2 separate regions of the Homo sapiens genome follow, and region 2 is linked to region 1. Evidence: promoter capture Hi-C in human tissues and cell types (Jung and others, 2019). All regions are on one chromosome and are shown on one strand. The core of a region is centred on a gene start or on the middle of the fragment in contact, and the rest is flanking DNA. Distances in the headings are between cores, read along the strand shown.

The links. The method cuts DNA at HindIII sites, captures the fragments that hold promoters and counts their contacts. A contact is called where the count stands out against the background at its distance.
Region 2: a fragment that was not itself captured here is called in contact with the fragment with the promoter of SOX13 in region 1 in 2 of the 25 tissues and cell types used here (heart right ventricle and liver).

Annotation. Positions count from the first base shown.
Region 1 is chr1:204,071,437-204,074,777 of GRCh38, reverse strand. It overlaps SOX13 (SRY-box transcription factor 13), which reads right to left and starts at 1,663. Exons shown (of 14, transcript NM_005686.3): 1 at 1,067-1,663. RefSeq lists an enhancer at 292-984. The HindIII fragment of the contact is 26,498 bases long and covers 1-3,341 here.
Region 2 is chr1:204,363,974-204,367,314 of GRCh38, reverse strand. It overlaps a transcript of PLEKHA6 not described here. Among named protein-coding and RNA genes, the nearest start is that of LINC00628, 4.1 kb to the left of the region's middle. The HindIII fragment of the contact is 5,440 bases long and covers 1-3,341 here.

The sequences.
Region 1 (3,341 bases), core at 414-2,913:
CTCGGGGTCCTCCCGGAAAGGTCCAGGGCTGAAGTTCAAAATTCACTTCCCGCCCAGGCCCGGCTCACCGCCCCGCCCGGTACTGTCCGGCAACCCCCACGTCTCTTGTCCTCTCCAGCTCCAGTTAAGTCCTGGAGCGCCTCCAGCCTGAAGACCCATGCGGGCAGCTGAGCGAATCCCGCGGGCGATCCCTGCGCGCCTGGGGACGGGAAGCAGCCAGAGCCGGCGCACACACACAACCTTGTGTGTGCGTGTGTGTTTACGTACGGAACGCGCGGGGTGGGAAAACAATGGCGAGCCGCTGGGAACTGAACGACTACCCGCTCCGCATCTCCCTACCCCTAGGCGCGATCAGCGTTTGCAGCGGAATCGGGATGAAAAGGCTCACCTACGATATCCCAGGGCGGGAGGTGGGGGTAGCAAGAAGCAGCCTGCGGTGGGGGTGGGGGTGGGACAGGAGCAGCCGGAGCAGAAAACAAACAGGATGCCGCGCTGGTCTGGTCCGCTGGGGAACGACCCTGAAACCGTGGCAAGGGGAGCGCGTCTGTCCCCCAGCACCCCACGCAACCATGGTGGAGGAGCTCTGCGCCTCGTCGCAGGCACCTGAGCCCCACGCAGGACGCGCGCAGGTCGCTTCGGCTTCCCGCTGAGAAATCCTTAAACTAGGCGCATAGTCGGGCTGATGAGAAAGACCTAGTCCTCTGCGGTCGGCGAGGAGCGGGTTGGGGGTGCACCCTAAGCTCGACCCGCGTGGTGAACGCGCGCGCGCGCGCGCGTACACACACACACACACACACACACAAACACACACACAGCCACGCACTGCCTTAGAGGCTGCCATCCCTCTCCACAAGGACCCAAGTCGGCCAGGGAGGAGCCGCCACTGCCCAGCGTTGTTGGGGGTAGGTGAGGGTCCGTCTCTCCTCGAAAAACTTTGCACAGGGTGGAAACTCGCAGGGAAGAGAGCCGGTGGGTGCCCAGAAACGTAGGGGCGCAAGTGTCAAACTTCAGAGAGCTGGGGAAATGGGCGCGACGGCGCGATCATGGCGGGGAGGGGTGCACTTACTACTCAGCCAGGCGCCGGGCTCGGGGCTCGGGGCTCGCGGCTCCGCGCTCCTGCTCCTCCTCCGTGCGGTCCTCGCGGCTGGCAGCCTAGGCTTCCCGCTCACATGCCCCCGCGACGCGGCGGGCGGGCCGGGTTGGGGAGGCTGGGCTGGGAGGGGGCACGCCCCCCGCCGTCGGCCGGGGAGTCGCTGCGGACCCACGGCCACCCTGGGTCCGCGCCCCACGGGGCCCGCCGTCCCGGGCGGCGAGCTTGGTTCCGGCCGGGCGGCGCCCTCTCCGCCGAGCCAGGCCGCTCTCTGCCCTCTGCCCTCTGCCCTGGGCTTGCGGCCGTCTCCCTGCCTTCCGCGGTCCTGCTCTGCGACTCGTCGGACGCGCAGCCGGCCCGCCCTCCCTGCTCTTCGGCTCTCACGCTCTCCGGCTCCAACCTCAGCGCCTCGGCTCGATTCCGAGTCAGGGCCTACGAGGCTGACCGCTGAGCTCTGGGCTCAGACCTGGGCTCGCCGGTTCTGGGCCCGGGTTCCAGGACCCGTGCTCACACAGTTCAGTTCCAAGCCGGGACTGGAGAAGGGCGCTCGCGGCTCGCTGCTGCGAGGCGACTGGACAGCCTAGAGGAGAAAGAGGGAGGGAGACCGAGAGCGCGCAGGGGGAGGAGGGAGGGAGGGTGGGGACTTGCAGAAGAAGGGAGGGACAGAGAGTTTCCTCCTCCTCCCTGCAGCCGGGTCCATCCAGGCATCAACAGCTGGAAACCTCTGTTGGAAAGGGGAAAGCTAAGGTTTACGGGCGGCGGGGAAGGGTGGGGGTGGAGTGAGGGGGTGTAGAGAAGAGAAGAAAGAAGGATTCTGCCCGCTCCCACTGCCCAGGTATGAGGGTCGCTACAGAGAATCTTCACTCCTTAAAGCAAGACCTAAGAAGTTATTGGTCCAGCTCCAAGCCTCCCAACCCCTCCAAACAGATAGCCTGGACTCGGGTTTTTTAAAAACCCCATTTCTCCGGACTTCCCTTAAGAACCTGATCTCTGCCGGGCGCGGTGGCTCACGCCTGTAATCCCAGCACTTTGGGAGGCCGACGGGGGCGGATCACGAGGTCAGGAGATGGAGACAATCCTGGCTAACACGGTGAAACCCCGTCTCTACTAAAAATACAAAAAATTAGCCGGGCGTGGTGGCGCGCCTGTAACCCCCTACTCGGGAGGCTGAGGCAGGAGAATCGCTTGAACCCGGGAGTGGGAGGTTGCAGTGGGCCGAGATCGCGCCATTGCACTCACTCCTGCCTGGGCGACAGGGCGAGACTCCGTCTCAAAAAAAACAAAACCTGATCTCACCTGTAGCTAGACGGATTCCTGATATCTCCAACCACTCCCTAATCCTGTCATTTGCAGCCTCTCAAATAAATCTTATTTTCTCCTGTCCCATTATATGGGAGGGTGGGGGAGAATGGAGAGTTGGTTTCCTTTCATTCAACGTATTTATCAAATGTCTACATATGACCGGGCGCAGTGGCTCACGCCTGTAATCCCAGCACTTTGGGAGGCCAAGGCAGCAGATCACCTGAGGTTGGGAGTTCGAGACCAGCCTGGCCAACATGGTGAAAACCCCTCTCTACTAAAAATACAAAAATTAGCCGGGTGTGGTGGTGCATGCCTGTAATTCCAACTACTCAAGAGGCTGAGGCAGAAGAATTGCTTGAACCCAGGAGGCAGAGGTTGCAGTGAGTGGAGATCGCACCACTGCACTCTAGCCTGGGTGACAGAGTAAGACTCTGTCTCAAAAAAAAAAAAAAAAAAAAGTCTACCTATGCCTGGCTTACCGGGGTGCTGGGGACACGAAGACAAATGAGACGGTGTCCTGCCCTTTCTGGATTCTGATTTTGTAAAGGAATGGGTGAATATACCATTGCAGTGAAGTGGAGAGGGCTAAGATAGGGCAGGCAAATGGGCACAGGGCCACCAAAGACACTGGGATATGGGGACTGGAACTTCTTGGGGGAGGTGGCATCTGAAATGGGTCTTGGAAGGACCTGTGGGTGTAGGGCAGATTAAAGGAGTGACAATCATGGACCTACTAATAAGTCTATGCCCACAGTGTGGGTGGCCAGCATGTGTTCAAAGGTGATGGTCAGCAAGGCTCTGAAGGCCTTCTAAGGGCTCATCCTTGCCCACTGCTTTGCCTGGCTAACTCCTTTTATTCATCTTTTAGGTCTCAGCCTAGACATCAACTTTCCCTGAAGCCTTTCTTGATGGCCATATCTGGGCCAGGTGCCCCATCTGTGGGCTCTGG
Region 2 (3,341 bases), core at 443-2,942, 290 kb before region 1:
GGGGGTGGTTTGTGTGGGCGGAGATGCCCTATTTTCCTCCTAGGAGTTGGTCAGGCCCCTCTGTGGGCTGGGGAGCCCTTATTTCCTGCCGTGGCTAAAGGTGTGCCTTGGGAAGTTGCCCTGGACTTAATCTTGGAAGCAGAAGACAGAGCTCTTTGGGCTGGGGTGGTGCATGAGCTACCCAGTTGAACTCACTTCTCTCTGCCTTGGCCTGGGTCTCTCCATCTGGTTTCATTCGCAAGGGTGAGGCTCAGCGTGCCCAGGCCTGTGGGCCTCACCTTCTGGTCTGGCCTCAGATTCTGCAGGGATGGTGAAGCGCCTCTGCCCAGCCTCCTGGGGCAATGGCACCACCAGAGGGAGCCCCAGTCTAGCCAGGGCAGGGAGGACCCTTGTCTCATCCCCTTTCCGTCCCTCTCTGCTTTGAAATCCTCATCCATCTGTACTAGGAGGGGTTACGTTTCCAATCCCCCACCGCCAAGATCTGCCAGCACTTAGATCTGCCACCATCTACCACCTACATCAGCTTAGCCGCTAACCTATTTTTTCTTTTTTTTAAGATAGGGTCTCACTCTGTCACCCAGGCTGGAGTGCAGTGGTGCGATCTCAGTTCACTGCAATTTCCATCTCCGGGGTTCAAGAGATTCTCGTGCCTCTGCCTCCTGAGTAGCTGGGACTACAGGTGCCCACCACCATGCCTGGCTAATTTTTGTATTTTTGGTCAAGATGGGGTTTTGTCATGTTGGCCAGGCTGGTCTCGAACACCTGGCCTCCAGGGATCCATCCACCTTGGCCTCCCAAAGTGCTGGGATTACAGGCGTGAGCCACCATGCCTGGGCCTGTTAACCATATTCTTAAAGCGAAAGCAAATTTTTCTTTTCTTTCTTTTCTTCTTTTTCTTTTTCTTTTGTTCCTCCTCCTTCTCCTCCTCCTCTTTCTCCTCTTCTTCCTGCTCTTCCTCCTTCTTCGTCTTCCTTTCAAAGTATCTGTTCTGGAAATTATTCTAATATCACATGACAGTTATAGACTGAATTTTTCCTGTTTGGACCCAAATGCTTCTTGCTTCAGTTAAGAATTGTGAATTGTTTCTTCTTTTCTCCCTCTTGCAGATACCATCTTCATATTCCTTTTGGTACATGGCTCTAGAGATTGTTCACTAAACACTTTCACATGTATTACGGCATCTCACCAGTCCCTAGAAACGTACCTGTCCACCTCTCTGACCTCGTGTCCCATGACTGGCTGGCTGTGCTGCCATCTTTCCTTCCCACCATCATGTCAAACCCATTCCCACCTCAGAGCCTTGGCGCTTGCTGTTCCCCCTGCCTGGGAGCACTGTCCTCCCATTTCCACACACCTGGTTCCGACTTCTCGATTAGCCCATGTCACCTCCTCAGAGAGGCCATGCCTGACTGCTCTGCCTGAATTCCCCCACCCCTCCACACTCTTACTCTTACTTTTCTTCACAGCACCTGGCACTACCTGAAACACGTTTGTTTATGTATCTGTTTGGTTATGTATTTCTGGTCCCCCCACTGCTGTGTAAGTCCTGGGAGCAGATTCTGGCTATTGTGTTTTTCACTCCCTCCTAGAACCTTTCTGGTGCATGATAGCAATCCAGTATTTCCTGAAATGAATGCATGCATGATAAACATTGGGAGACAAACAACACAGGCATAATTGATTTCTGCTTCAGCTACCAGCCCAGAGCTTTCTTCTGAGCTCCCTCAATTCATTGTGTCCAGACTTGAAGTCATTGCTTCTCTGTGCCGGTTCCATCTTTTCTAGAAATACCAGCAAAGCAGAGCCCTCGGAGATACCCTCAACCTTTCCCGCTCTCATGCCTCCCCCATGGGTCCTGTCAATTCTCCTCCCAAATATCTCTCAACCCACCCACTTCTCGATATCTCCATAGCCATGGCCTGAGTTCAGGCCCACATGGACTCTCACTTCCATTATTGTAGAAGCTTTCCAACTGATCTTCCTGCCTCCAGGCCATAATGCTGCAAGAGTGCTTTCTTTCTAGAATTCAAATTTGGTCATATTATTCTCCATTAAAAACTTTGCATGTTACCCGTCACTTACAGGATAAAATCTAAATTCCCTATCTGGGCACGTAAAGGGCATCATAGTCTCGCTCCCGCCCCCCTTCCCAGCCTCACCTCCCACACTCCCCACCTGGCTCTTTAGCCCTCTCCTCTAGCCCTGCCAAATCACTTGTGGTTCCCTCAACATTCGCTTCCCTTTCATGCTTCCGGGGCTTTGTAGGTGCCAATCTCTCCTCATGTGGCTCATGCCCACCTGAGAACACTTGTTCTTCCTTCAAGCCCTGCCCATGATGTCACTTCTTCAGGGATGTGTCCGTGTATGGTAGTTATTTGCTTATACTTGTGTCATTTTCCACTAGATTAGTAACTCTCCAACTGGAGCGTGTATCACAATCACTGGAGGGTTTGTTGGAGCACAGATGGCTGGGCCCTACCCCTAGAGTTTCGGATTCAGAGGGTCTAGAATTTGCACTTCCAACACATTCTCAGGTTATGCTGCTGTGGCTGCTCTGGGGCCCACACTTCGAGAACCAGTAGCCTAGACTGAAAACTCATCAAGGGCAGGGGCAACACAGGGGGGTCGTAAAGTCCGGAGACACAGGCAATATTGTTTAATTATCAACCAGCCATGAATTCTGTGTTCACATACATTTCCAGACCTGGTGGTCATTCTGTATATCATAGCAGCAGCCGCCACTCTAGGAGCTAAGTGCTTTATGACATTATCTCATTTATTCCTCACCGCACCTTTATGAGGAGGTTCTATCATCCCGCTTTTAGCAAATAATGGGAAAACTGGTTCTTCGTATGTATTACTCAATGTCACAAAGCTTGTATTAATAGAAAGCAAGCGGGAAGGCGGCCTCATGTGTGCCTGATTTCACAGGCTTTGCTCTTAGCATGATGGCACGGCTGCTTCCCAGCATCCTTGGCACCTTGCTTGGACAAACGAAGTGCTCAGTAAGTTCTTGCTGAATGAGTGAGTGAATGAATGAACGACTGGCTCACCGTTCGTTCCTATTTTCACAGTTCCCACAAAGGTTTATGACATTTGGTTGGTGGATGAGTTAGAAACTCAAACGACTTCAGACATGGATTCCAAGTAATAATAAGAGCCAGACAACCGGAGGAGTTATTTTGTTTCTTTTAGTGTGGATGAGGGAGGGAAATTTCAATGAGCAAATATTGACATTTGCCCAGGAGCAGACAAATGTGTTAATTGTGTGTCAAAAAGCTCTTTCTTTCAGGGTATTTAGGAAGTGACTCTCATGGTATCCACAACAGACGTTTTGCTCG